3 separate regions of the Homo sapiens genome follow, and regions 1 and 2 are each linked to region 3. Evidence: promoter capture Hi-C in 16 types of primary human blood cells and fetal thymus (Javierre and others, 2016). All regions are on one chromosome and are shown on one strand. The core of a region is centred on a gene start or on the middle of the fragment in contact, and the rest is flanking DNA. Distances in the headings are between cores, read along the strand shown.

Region 1 (4,985 bases), core at 967-3,466, 230 kb after region 3:
GCAGGGGGCTCCCTTGGACTGAAAACCCTCCAGGGACTGTTGCATGGGGTCCCAATAAGCTAACAACAGCCCTGGAAGGTAAGGCCTCTTGTCCCTATTTGACAGATGAGGAAACTGAGGCTGGGAGAGGCAGCCACACAGCTAGAGTGAATGGTGAACTGGACTAGGAACATGGGTGGGCGTGTTTCCCACACTGCCCCACAGTGACACAGCGGGGGCGGGGACAGCCCTTAAAATCCGATCCTCCGCGAACACCTTGAATCCTCAAACCTCCATCCATCCAAAAGGGGCTCCGCCTTGGGGAGGCCCTTCGCACACTTCTCTACAATTTGAGGGGCCGTCGGCTGCAATAACCACATAGTGGGGCCACTACAAGTCAACAGAAGCAGACCCTCTCTCCAAAAACACAGCAGACCCTGTCTCCAACACAGACTAGGCCTAGTTCCGACTTCCAGAATGCCGTGGTCCAGCCCTGGCATTGCTGACTCATGGGGTCAGGCTGGCGTTGCTCCTCTGTGGGGCTGGAGGGGCCCCAGATCACAGACCTGGGGGTGGGTGTGAGCACTGTCTTCGTACCCAGAGGCTGAGGTCAGCTTTTGGGCTGCTCTTTCTTCAGCCATTTACTAGTTTCCCATCGTAATAATAACTACCCCTACCTAAGCTTTATAGCTCAGCAAGGACTTTCACAAACATTCTGTCACTCACACCACCCTTGCACCAGCCCTGTGATGAGGAGTTAATATGCCCATTTTATAGAACAAGAAGCTGAAGCTCAAGGAAGGAGGTTCTGGGACTCATCTCAGATCCCATGGCCAGGAAGCGGTGGCCACTCTGGAATTCTTGACCCTGCCCAGACCAGCACCTTCCACAGCAGAGACCCCCTCCAAGGAGCGGGCGACGTGTGACTTCCCCATGGGTGGACTCTGGGCTGCAGTGATCGGCTAGCGGTGCCATCTTTAGTCTGGGAGCTGTGTGAAGCCTGCTCCCCACCTTCCCCCTCCTGCAAATATTGGGGGAGGGGCATGGAGGACAGGAAGATAGAAGCAAAAGTGGCAGTGACCGGTGCATGAGAGATTGGGAGATACGTGCTGGGGAGGGGTTCCCCGGAGCAGAGCTGGCTGCCCTTGGCACTGGGCCCAGGCGGAGGAGTGGCAAGACCAACAGTTCCTGGAGCACAAGTCCCTCAGCCGGTGCCCAGTGCCAGCCATCGCCATGTTCTCATCTGCCAGCAGCAAAATGAGAAAAATAAGGACAATATAGTGAGGTTTTACTAAAGCTAGGTTTACTCAATCCAAAAGACTGTCCTTTTATCTGAGCTTTGTATTTTCAATCGTGTGTGTGTCTGTGTGTGTGTGTCTGTGTCTGTGTGTGTCTGTGTGTGTGAGCACAAAAGGACCTTTCCTTTGACATTTCCTTTTAATGACCTCAAACTCAGCAAAATAAAAAAACTGGTGACTAGCTGGTGTGGTGGCTCATGCCTGAAATCCCAGCACTTTGGGAGGCCGAGGTGGACAGATCGCTTAAGGCCAGTAGTCTGAGACCAGCCTGGCCAACATGGTGAAACCCCATCTCTACTAAAAATACAGAAATTAGCTGGGTATGGTGGCGGACGCCTGTAATTCCAGCTACTCGAGAAGCTGAGGCACAGGAGTCGCTTAAACCTAGGAGGCGGGGGTTGCAGTGAGCTGAGATGGCACCACTGCGCTCCAGCCTGGGTGACACAGCGAGGCTCTGTCGCAAAAACAAAACTGGTGACGACGTCAGATCCTAAATTTTTTTATTTTTTTGAAATGTTAGTGATGTGAGAAATCCGAAAGGCTGAGACCCACTGGGCTAGCTTGTACGTGGCTCTGGGTGAAACCTGGCACAGGGGGGCAATGTTTTTTAATTGAGGGATGAATCTAAACAGCTGGAAGCTTCTCCCGGGGGGAGGAGGGGCTGGGTTCTTGCCCAGACTCAGCCCCTGAGGCCCCAGCCTAGGCATCCCCAGGAAACCTGAGCAGAAGGAACATTCACGTAACTGTACTGGGAATTCTGAGAAGGGCCTAGGGGCCAGTTCCCCATGCCACACACCCTCTGCTCATCCCTGACCGGGAGCCGCGAGGCAATCTTCCCTTAAACCCCACCTCGGCCTCCCCCAGCACCCCCAAGGCTGGTTCCAAAATAGTCCAGGCCCTTGGAGGAGACATCATGGGTCGGGCTGGCTGCCTGTCCCGAGAGGACATGGCAATAACGCTGTGGCCGAATATAGAGGGACAGTAGACGCTGACAGGGGCCCTGGGGCCTGGGAGCCTCGCAGGTTCCACGGTGCCTGCTCCACCCCCATCCCTTCTGAGCCCTGCACCCCCTAACCTGGACAGCTGGGAGGCTGGCGCCCCTCTCCTGGCCCAGCCCGGCCCACCTGGGGACAGGTCCGAACAAGCCCAGGTAGAACAGGAGGCCGGCCTAGGAGGGCCCAGGGCCTGGGCTGGGCATGAGCTTGGGGCCACCTCTCTCTAGGGACTCAAAGCATTTTATAAGCTTAACTTCCCACAGGACATCCCGAGATCAGGAGACCAAGAGGAACCGGGGTGTCTGCTGCAGAGCCACTCCTGCTCTCTGTTCTCAGCTTCCGAAGGAGAACAGGGCCATAAAGCTGGGGTGTGGGAGGCTGAGAGGAGAGCAGGAAGCCAGTCCAAACCCCAATAAACTGCTGGTTGAATCGAATCACAAATAATTAGTCCCGATGGCCAAGACTGCCTCCACCCTCCTCTCCTGGGAATTAAAAGTCAAAGGGCAGAGCTGCTGACGCAGATGCCAGGGGAGACATGAGGCTTGGAACAGCTGGGACTCAGCTCCCAGGCTCCACTGCCCCAGGTCGCAGGCCCTGGTTGCCCCGGTTGCCCCGGACACGATGTCCCCCAGGCAGGCCCCTAGAGCTTCATTGCCAACTCAGGGAAGGGGGCTCTGCTCCCTCACCCTTCCCCTGGTGCTACGTCAACAGAACTAGATTCAAGGTTAATCAGGCTGCCCTGAAAACTGTTGCCAGATGACAGCCTGGAAGAAGCAGTTGCCAGCCTCTCTCCCTCCCACCCCTGTAAGAGGAGGAAGAGATCTCTGCCTCCCTGTCGAGGGGGAGCCTGGCTCCCTGAAACCCACTGCGCCCCTTCCCCTAGGTCGGCCTTGCCGCAGGCACCCCCTGGACGGCTGCACCAGGTCTGCGCGCCAGCGGTGACCCCCAGTGGTCAGTGCAGGACTTGAACCTGAGCCGTGGGCATGGCTGCTGCAGACTCATCACTGCAGCCTCAGCCCACAGCCAGTGACTTGGGAAGCCTTGCCGTGTGAGTGGTTTGGGGATTTGATCTTGGTAAGGCTGTTGCTGGCGTTTAGAGGTACTTCGTAGGTGCTGATTTTTCCTAATTGAACTGTGGCTGGATCTTGGCCTAAAGGTCCCACTGTCAGCAAATCCGTGTCCACATGCCTAAGAATGAATTCATCATCTTCTAGCCCTAAACCGGCTCCTCCTCCTGACTTCCCTATTTCTATTAATAGCACCGCCACCCTCCAAACCTCCGAGTCATCTTCAGCCGCTCCCCACACTGGGCGGGGTGCCTGATCTTGCCCCTCCTCCCTCCGCAGGTCACCCTTGCATTACTCTCCTGGACACTCGTAGCCTCTCACCTGCGTCACTGACATCCTCAACGATGCTGCTGGGTCAGACCTGGGCAGGGGACCCACCCCTCTTCCACTTACTGGCCTCGCGACCCTGGGCAAGTTACTTAAACTCTCTGAGTCTCAGCTTCCTCAGCTGTAATGTGAGGCTAATAATCACAGCCCCTCTCTCCTAGGGCATTGCATGAATTAAATGATAGGCTGGGTGTGGTGGCTCATGCCTGTAATCCCAGCACTTTGGGAGGCCCCGGTGGGAGGATCACCTGAGGTCAGGAGTTCCAGACCAGCCTGGCCAACATAGTGAAACCCCGTCTCTACTAGAAATACAAAAATTAGCCATGCCTGTAGTCCCAGCTACTCCGGAGACTGAGGCAGGAGAACCGCTTGAACCCAGGAGGCGGAGGTTGCAGCGAGCTGAGATGTGCCACTGCACTCCAGCTTGGGCGACAGAGCCAGACTCCATCTCAAAAATAAATAAATAAATAAATAAAATAAAAAAGAATTAAATGATAGAATGGACATGAAGACCCTATCACGTAAGAAATGCTCGGGCCGGGCGCGGTGGCTCACGCCTGTAATCCCAGCACTTTGGAAGGCCGAGGCAGGCGGATCACGAGGTCAGGAGATCGAGACCATCCTGGCTAACATGGCGAAACTCCATCTCTACTAAAAATACAAAAAAATTAGCCGGGCGTGGTGGCGGGAGCCTGTAGTCCCAGCTACTCGGGAGGCTGAGGCAGGAGAATGGCGTGAACCCAGGAGGCGGAGCTTGCAGTGAGCTGAGATCGTACCACTGCACTCCAGGCTGGGTGACAGAGCGAGACTCCGTCTCAAAAAAAAAGAAATGCTCAATGGGTATGGATTATTAGAAATCATCCAGTCCAATGCTCTCATTTTATAAGCAGGGAAACTGAGGCCCACGTGTCTTTACAACATGCTACAAAGCCAGGGACTTGGAAGTTCCTGAAATCTTGAAGCTCTTCCACTCCCCTCCTCCACCATCACGGCATTCTAGAACTCAGAACAAAAGGCCAGCTCTTGAGTCCTCTGGGCCCCTTCCTCTGCTTTCAGGGGCAGGTATGCTTGGGTAAGTGTGGTGGTCACTCAGTCACAGGAAGTATGTTCTGGGATGGGACAACCACAGCTGGTATCCAGCCAGCTGAGTCAGGGCCACCCATCTGCAAGGTGATGAGTGAGGCTCGGCACGTGGGCTGGCACAGCTGCCCACCTCAGGGCACACAGGGGCGTGCTCACATGGCAGCTGTCCAAAAAGGGCAGATGTCTCTGCCTTTGGCAATCCCGCCTTCACCTCCCTCTCCCCACACACACCGCAC
Region 2 (4,285 bases), core at 1,476-3,975, 140 kb after region 3:
CCAGCCTGGTCAACATGGTGAAACCCCGTCTCTACTAAAAATACAAAAATTAGCCAACATGGTGGCGGGCGCCTGTAGTCTCAGCTACTCGGGAAGTTGAGGCAGGAGAATCACTTGAACCTGGGAGGTGGAAGGTTGCAGTGAGCCGAGATGGTGCCACTGCACTCCAGCCTGGGTGACAGAGCAAGAGACTCCGTCTCAAAAAAAAAAAAAATTCTATTATGTTCCGTCCAGCTGCCTTATGATTTTCAGAAAAAGCACATTACACTTGAGCCTTCATTTATAAGTAGAGTTTTCTCCCAAATGTAACTTTATCAGTCTGTAGCAGAAACTAGTGCTTAAAGCCATTATCCTGATGGTTCTTACAGCTATTCAAACTTCGTGATCACAAAAGCATGTAAGTGGTAAGTGTTGGCAGACCAGATCTCTGCTGCTTGCACCCATTATTCCAATACTTCTTCATAGCCTCGTTCTGTTCCCTAAAGAACAAAAGCCTCACCATGGAGCTGACAAACAGCTTAGCTCTGTTATTTCCAGTGCTTGTTTCCTTAAAACTTTGTATTGCTCTACACTGCATGGGTAAATGACAAAAGGCTTTTGTAGACTGGTGTCCAAAAAGCTCATGAGACCAAATTTATTTCACTGGTAACCCAGGCAGTGCTGGTTTCTTACTATAAAAGTACATATAAAGTTTTTTAAGACAGCTTTCTCACCAATACTATGTCAACACTGTATCAAATGGACGTTAACTTTCTCACCAATACTATGTCAATACTGTATCAATTGACATTTAGTGAAATGACTCATTTAGTGTTCTTCTCCCCAACTCTTCAGTTTTAAAAAACTCCATCCTCACCAAGCCACTCCAATTTGATACATTGTCAATATCTCTAAATCCTTCAAACCAGCAGGTTGGGTACCCACTTGCAAAAAATTAAATACATAAGCGTTTTTGCTGGGAAAATGAAAATGCTAACATCTAACCATCTGTCCAGCCGTGAATAGATTTTGACCATAAGTTCTCTAGCTATATGCAATAGCTAAACTTTAAAGATTAGTAAAGTGATGTAAATTTTTCTAAGTTCAGTCAGCCGTTTTGTCCAAGCAAGTTTCCTCAGCAAAAACAGAAAACTGATCCAATGCTCTCTCCATATAAATTTCAAATAAATCATCTCAGATTACACGAAGGAATTTCATCTTATCACCTGACTCCTCCATGTCAGCATGACATTTTGAAACTTGCTGTATAGCTAACCTTACCATACCATCTCTATAATGGGGTAGACAAATGTGGACTGAAGAGGGCTGTTAAAAAATAAAGTTGTACCAAGCACTGGTCAGGCTATAGTTTTGATAGCATTTTTTATGTGGCAAACCACGATCTGGTACATCAGTAGAGCAACTGCTTTCCATTATTCCTTCGTGACTCAATGAGTCAGGCCTTTTTCCATCATTAGCATTTACAACATAATAACTCCAGAGGTCGATCTTCAGAAAACACTTAAAAACAAAGACAATAGGCATTTTTAATTTTAAAGAATTTTAATACAAACTTAATATAAACTATTTCAGTCCCTCTTAACATGTAAGACACTGACTCAAAATACTTTTATACCGTTTTTTTCAAGTATTGCACAATATAGGTACAAAATTAATATTTACGATTACATTTTTCTTCCATAATATATAGCAAAAATCTTTAAACTTTTAACAGAAAATACATTTTTTTGAAAAAGCAAGTATTCGTACATTTTAATTCCACCACTAAAGGAATATCCTGTACACAATTTTTAGAATAGTTGATGTCTTTAAGATGGATATTTTACAATTTCAGTAAAAAAAATACAACATGAAGCTGCTGCTGTCACAGATCACTGTAGTAAAAAGATATAAATGCAATACCATGTCGTAGAAACAATATATATATATCCTCTGATATTTTACAAACTTTGTACTAAATTAAATTATACAATTAGAAAAGACCAATAAACCCACTTATTAGTGCCAATTTTTATAAAAAAAAATCAGCCATGTCCTTGCTATATCTTAAATACTGTAAGAGGCCATATCTGAGAGTATACTTTAAAATATACAGTCAGTATAAAATAACTTTGTGCTTGGTTGGCAAATGAAAAATGATGCATGTTTTATTATTATTTTTTTAACCAAGCTTGAATGTATCCTTACTATAAGCTTAAAAAAAAAAATTCTCAAGGAGGTGAAAAAAAAAATCCCCCTTGGGCCCGTGCATTTTAACTTGTACGATACATTTTCTTTTTTTTAGTTAGCCATAACAGGCTGGAATTGCTGGTTAGAATACTGCATGTTATTTAAGCTAAAATTCAAGCCATCTACAAAAGATTTCTCATTGAGGCCTCCATAGGCTGCAAACACATCAAAGGCATTACTGTACTGGAGAGGACTGAGGTTAAGGGGGCTGTCACCTGGGAACATTCCATTGGTACTACTACCTTGACCCTGCATATTAGGAAAAATAAATTCCTTGGCATTAGGAGAAAGAGCAGAGGTTTTCTGCTGTTGTTGCTGCTGTGGTGGTGGTGGTGGCGGTGGCGGCTGGGCTGGCTGCTGCTGTTGCTGTGGCTGCTGCTGGCTACCCAAGCCAAGCCCATACAGAGAGTGCATTGAGGAAGAGATGGCTTTCTGCTTCAAGAGGTCATTCACATTCAAGCCGAGGTTGATGGGAGAAGTACGTGCAACCTTGTTGCTACGGCCACTATTCTTCATTTTGGTAGAGCCGAACTTGGTGGCAGCAAAAGTGGCAGTGGTAAAGGTTAAAGGCTGAGTGGACCGGGGCATGAAGGTAGGGCTTACAGCAGCAGAGTGACCAAAAGGAGGCGATGGAGAGCTGGACACTGATGAGGCTGGGTCACTTATGGGCATAAAAACCTGGGCCTCTGGGTTAAAGCTGTTTTTGATCTCCTTATCCAACTCACATCCATTTTCATTATTATCATCCACGTAAAGCACCTTCACTGGTCCCTTTTCACCAATTTGGTAAGAAACCTCAAATGGGTCGATCCAAACACTAAGATCCTGTGGCAGATTGCCACGAACATCATCAATGTCCAAACCACTCTCTTTGGATGCTTGTTCAATCACTGGGTCCACTTTCTCCCCTATGTGTATACATCTAAACCCCGATCCTTTGTATGGCTTTTCAGGATACCAGTGCCCTTCATATTTCTTCTTAAGAAGTCTTTCAAGTTCTTCACCAAAAATGTTGACACGTCTCCTGGGAAGCTTATTGTACAAATACGAAATAATAAAATTTAGTGCTACTTGGATTTCAAGCTGCATAGCTGCTACGCCACAAAATTAGGTTTCAACTCCCCCACCAAAAAAAAAAAAAAAAAAAAAAGATGTTCAGTTTGTGGCAGAGAAACAAATTTTCATTCAAAGTGCTGGTATTAGTAGATTATCCTTCACCTTGAGTGATCTTGTTCCTTAAAACAAAAGCAAACATATCCAAATAAGATAAATGTAATATAAGTCCCATGACCTTCCCCCCTCCAAAGTAATTTCACCTTTCAAAATGTCTAAGATCCTGTGTTAGTCTGCTAAGGATAAAAAGAAAAAGAAAATGTCTACTAGGACAGAAAGCCTGAAAACTGTTACTAGCACAAAATAAACATAAAATAGAAAATCGTTTATTAAAGTTTAAAATGACACAGGAAAATGTAGATTTACAAATGAAATAATGCTTTTAAAAACCTGTTTCTGAATAGAGTTCTAAGAAGAAAAATCTCTAGAACATGCATTCTTCTCTCCTCAGTTCTCACAAGAATATTTATTGTACTCAGCATCCTCCCCCCACCCCCATATATATAGATGCCACTTTTAGGTAGTAATTTTTATTGTTATTCACCAACTTAGAAGTGAATCCATGTTTTAGTTTACTTTGGATATATACTGTTTAAATCTGCTCTGTCACTGACATTTAAAAATTTGGTTACGTTAGGAAGATCATTTTAATTTCCATAGTACATGATGCTAAAATTAAAGACACTGAGTACTAAATGAACTTCATCCTAGTAAATAATTATGAACCAAATTATTCTATATAGTTTCGGCCTTAAGTATACTAAGAGCATACAATATAATAAAATCCAGCTTCTCTGGGCCTTTTGTTTTCAATGTGTATTTTTCTAAATCTGAAAATACCTATTCGGCAGCAAGTATAACAAAAGCAAAGACACAAATTAAAACTATTGATTATTCTGTTTAAGGCCAGGGTTTCTGAGTTTTAGTCTGATTTTAAAAAACC
Region 3 (4,621 bases), core at 1,373-3,872:
AAGATCCTTTCTCCTATCAAAGGCCAGAGGTTTCAAATATGCCCTGGAGCCTAACCCATTACTTTTTTTTTTTTTTTAAGACACAGTCTCACTCACTCTGTTGCCCAGGCTGGAGTGCAGTGGCGCGACCTTGGCTCACTACAGCCTAAGTCTCTTGACAGTCCACTGTTTAAAGCGATGCTCCTGCCTCAGCTTCCCGAGTAGCTGAGATCACAGGCGCCACCACCACGCCTGGCTATCCTTTGTGTTTTTAGTAGAGACAGGGTTTCCCCATGTTGGCCAGGCTGGTCTCGAACCCATGACCTCAAATGACCCACCTCTGCCTCCCAAAGTGCTAGGATTCCAGGCGTGAGTCACCACGCCAGGACCCAACCCGTTACCTTTTTAAGATTTTAAGTCATTAACTATCCCCTTCTTTTATTTTCCACCTCTCTACTGGAATATCCCCAACATTAAACATTCTCTCATTTCCTACGTTTGGGGTTTTTTTTTTTTTGGTCTTTTCTTTTTTTTTCCTTTTTGTGGAGAATGGCGTCTTGTTATGTTGCCCAGGCAGGTCTTAAACTCCTGGCCTCAAGCTATCTCCCTGCCTCTGCCTCCCTAAAGTAGTGGGATTATGGCGTGAGCCACCATGTCTAGCCTCTAATTTCCTATCTTCAAAAAGGCTCCAGCCCCACTTGGTGGCTCACGCCTGTAATCCCAGCACTTTGGGAACTTTGGGAGGTCGAGGCAGGTGGATCACCTGAGGTCAGGAGTTTGAGATCAGCCTGGCCAACATGGCGAAACTCCGTCTCTACTAAAAGTACAAAAATTAGCTGGGCGTGGTGGCGGGTGCTTGTAATCCCAGCTACTCAGGAGGCTGCGGCAGGATAAACTTGAACCCGGGAGGCAGAGGTTGCAGTGAGCCAAGATGGTACCACTGCACTCCAGCCTGAGCGATAGCTCAAAAAAAAAAAAAAAAAAAAAAAAAGGCTTCATGTCCCATACCTCCTTTGAGTTCTCACCCTATTTTGCTGCTTTCCTTCTTAAAAAGAGGTGTCCACGACCGGGCGCGGTGGTTCACGCCTGTAATCCCAACACTTTGGGAGGCTGAGGTGGGTGGATTATTTGAGCTCAGGAGTTCAAGACCAGCCTGGGCAACTTGGCGAAACCCCGTCTCTACCAAAAATACAAAAACTTAGCCGGGCGTGGTGGCATGCGCCTGTAGTCCCAGCTACTGGGGAGGTTGAGGCGAGGGGGTCGCCTGAGCCCGGGAGGTTGAAGCTGCAGTGAGCTGAGATCGTGCCATTGCACTCCAGCCTGGGTGACAGGGCCAGACCCAGTCCCCCCAAAAATAAAAGTGTTGGGCTTGTTATCAATGTGTAGTGCCTTACATTGTATAAACTCATTTAATCTTCACAATAGCATCGTGGCTGGGGGCCGGGGGAGGACTATTGTAAACCCCATTTTACAGAAAAGGAAACAAAGGCACAGAGCGGCAGAGCTGGGATTACGAACCCAGGCAATCTGGCTTTAGAGACCATACCCTTAACTGTGCTAAAGCATTATCCCAACATACGTTGATATATTTGTGACTTTATTTCTTCAGCGATTATCTCCCCTCGCCAATGCACAGGTCTGCGGGAGCATGGACTGTCTGAAAGGTTCTGAGTTTAGCTTTAAGCACAGTGCCTGGCACATACCATTTGTTGAATAAATGGATCTACCTATCTATATATATGTGTGTGTGTGTGTGTGTATGTGTGTGTGTGTGTGTGTGTGTATATATATATATATATATATATATATTTTTTTTTTTTTTTTTTTTTTTTTTGAGATGGAGTTTTGCTCTTGTTGTCCAGACTGGAGTGCAATGGCGCGATCTCGGCTCACCGCGACCTCCGCCTCCCGGGTTCAAGCGATTCTCCAGCCTCAGCCCCCTGAGTAGTTGGGATTACAGGCATGCGCCACCACGCCAACCTAATTTTGTATTTTTAGTGGAGACGGGGTTTCTCCATGTTGGTCAGGCTGATCTCGAACTCCCGACCTCAGGTGATCCGCCCGCTTCGGCCTCCCAAAGTGCTGTGATTACAGGCGTGAGCCACCTCACCTGGCCTACTGGATCAATATCTTTTTAAAAAATTCCACACTGGGAGACATTTGGTGTAGGACTGAATCCCCGTATTTTAGAAGCCGCCTTGTCTCTTCTTGCCTCGATTTCCCATCCTGTTAATCAGGAGACTCAGGGCGGGAGGACAAAGCCAGGTGCAAGAGGCGTGAGCACAGCGACTAGGAAAATGGAGTCGGAAGCCGTAATCTTCAGTTTCCTCCGCTGCATGAGGCACCATGTGCACCACGTGGACTAAAGGAGACACTTTCTCCATTTTGAAGCGGTGTCCAGGCTTCAAGACCTAGGCTCCAATTTCTCACCGTGAAGAAGCTCGGGAAAACCGGGCGCTTGGGGAGGCGCGCGGGCAGAGGCTACCCGTCCCCGCGGCCTCTAGACAGGGGCGGAGTCCCTACCCGGCCTCCGCGGGCCCCGCCCCCGGACGGCGGAAGCCGAGCTCGCCCTCTCCGCCCGGGCCTGGGCGTGTCCCACGGGCGCACGGCATGCTGGGAAGGCGTCCGCGCGGCGGCCATTTTGTCTTGTCGGCTCCTGTGTGTAGGAGGGATTTCGGCCTGAGAGCGGGCCGAGGAGATTGGCGACGGTGTCGCCCGTGTTTTCGTTGGCGGGTGCCTGGGCTGGTGGGAACAGCCGCCCGAAGGAAGCACCATGATTTCGGCCGCGCAGTTGTTGGATGAGTTAATGGGCCGGGACCGAAACCTAGCCCCGGACGAGAAGCGCAGCAACGTGCGGTGGGACCACGAGAGCGTAAGTCCCGCGGGCCTTGGCCTGAGCCCGGGCTCCGTGGGGGAGGGGAGCGGGCGCGGGCTGTGGCCCTCCTGGCCGCGGCGCGATGTGGCCAGGGCCGCACCCGGGGTCGAGCGTCTGACCCGGTGCCCATGGAGCCAGGAGGGAGGATGCTGTCCGGACCCGGGGATGGGGGTGATTTGGTTTTGTTGTTCTAGTATCAAGGGGGTCCGGGAGAGCCCTTGGCATAATTGAAAAGCACCTTGATGAGGCGGGGAAACGCGGGAAAGAAGGATAGCAGCGTCTTATTAAATCTAGCGGCTCCGAGGTTTCACCTCATTATGAAATAGGGAGAAGGGCACATTTTTCTATAGTTTGGGTTGAACGTCGTATTTAGACTAAAATTTCTGACCAGGATTCATGGTAAAAATCGTGGCGGTATTTTATTTAAGTAATTACAGCATGACGCTTATACGGGGAAATAGAAATGTAAAAGAAGTCGTTTACTTGTTAGGGTTTACCGTGATGATTTACAAGTATTGTTCGTTAACAGTATTCTAAGAAGTCCCTTATAGAGGCAGCTGTCAAGGTTTTTTCTTCCACATAAAACTCATTTGATGCTCTTAGCCCGGGGAGTAAAGGTAAATATTATAACCCCAGTTTCACTGGTGAGACTTAAAAAGGCTCACCCAAAGTCTTGGCAACTGAGGAAACTAATCTTTGTAGTTCTGTTAGCTTTCCACAATCCTATGAAACTGGTTCTCTGCACCTACTGTAGCATTTCAAGTGTTTTGATCTAGTTTTGAACATGCAGTGTAATGTTTACTTTAGGTCTTATCTGGAGAATAGATACAGAATTTAATTTTACTTTGAGGTTATAATCTAACATGCTAATTTTAAAACAATTGCTAATCAAAATAGGAAGGAATAGTTCAGGTAATGCATGCTTCTTTAGAAAACTGTTTTCTTACTCTTTTTAAACGTAGGCTTTGGTTAAGGTAAAATTTCTTTTTTGCAGTGTAGGAAAGCAAGTTGGTGCTAGATGACTCCTTTTAGGACTTTAAGAAAGAGTAAGTTTGGCTCAAGTTGTGTTGGGGTGCTAACTGATTCCAAAGTAGTATGAAACATTCTTAGAGTAGAATTTATTGTTTTTAAGAGGTGGGTTTTTTGTTTTTAACATTTAGGCTCCCCATCCCCCCGACCATTTGTCACAATAGGAGACTAAGGAACTGCTTACCTTGACCATCTTTCTTTTGTAGGCATCTTTGTTATAGCGAAGTAACTTTTTTTTTTTTTAACTACCTGACTCTGTAACCTTTCAGTCTAAACTTTGCAAATGTGTTAGGAATAACGCTCAAAATCCTAAGTAAGGTAAAAAACCAAAACATTATGGCGATTTGGCTTATGTTCAATAGGTTATTTGTATATTTTGAATTCAAGAGAAAAATGCTTTCCATTGCACTCCTTATCAGTTGGAACAGCCTTGTATCTCTGCACCCTTGACTTTGAACACGTTTTAGAGAAACTGTTTTCTTTCCCGGGGTAATTTGTTGCCACATTGCATTGTATGTGATGGGTTTATGACTCTTCAATGATGAGGCCCTCAGAATAGCAATTTAGGTTTTATGTCATCTCAGCCGTAATCTGCTTTGCTTTCAGTTTTAGTACTTTTCACTAATTTTAACTTTCAGTGTTTATTACTAAAGTATTTAATGCCTTAATGACAGATTGCACTTCACTCTAGATTGAAGGATTTCAAGTCAGTTACTGGCATTTCAGATTGATATCTGC

Evidence for each region. The method cuts DNA at HindIII sites, captures the fragments that hold promoters and counts their contacts. A CHiCAGO score of 5 or more calls a contact.
Region 1: a contact is called between a fragment that was not itself captured here and the fragment with the promoter of LUC7L3 in region 3, in 1 of 17 cell types (fetal thymus). The highest score is 6.0, in fetal thymus.
Region 2: a fragment that was not itself captured here is called in contact with the fragment with the promoter of LUC7L3 in region 3 in 1 of 17 cell types (fetal thymus); the score reaches 9.0 in fetal thymus.

Annotation. Positions count from the first base shown.
Region 1 is chr17:50,947,293-50,952,277 of GRCh38, forward strand. LOC124904029 (a long non-coding RNA gene) reads right to left here and starts at 4,239. Exons shown (of 2, transcript XR_007065849.1): 1 at 3,661-4,239; 2 at 1,761-3,460. RefSeq lists a silencer at 3,056-3,350 and enhancers at 3,221-3,747, 4,388-4,889. The HindIII fragment of the contact is 604 bases long and covers 1,915-2,518 here.
Region 2 is chr17:50,860,700-50,864,984 of GRCh38, forward strand. TOB1 (transducer of ERBB2, 1) reads right to left here. Exons shown (of 2, transcript NM_005749.4): 2 at 1,524-3,464. The coding sequence starts at 3,318. The coding sequence ends at 2,281. Among named protein-coding and RNA genes, the nearest start is that of TOB1, 3.5 kb to the right of the region's middle. RefSeq lists an enhancer at 4,271-4,285. The HindIII fragment of the contact is 1,068 bases long and covers 2,192-3,259 here.
Region 3 is chr17:50,716,981-50,721,601 of GRCh38, forward strand. LUC7L3 (LUC7 like 3 pre-mRNA splicing factor) reads left to right here and starts at 2,623. Exons shown (of 10, transcript NM_016424.5): 1 at 2,623-2,851. The coding sequence starts at 2,753. RefSeq lists silencers at 2,330-2,559, 2,900-2,959 and an enhancer at 2,590-2,729. The HindIII fragment of the contact is 10,215 bases long and covers 1-4,621 here.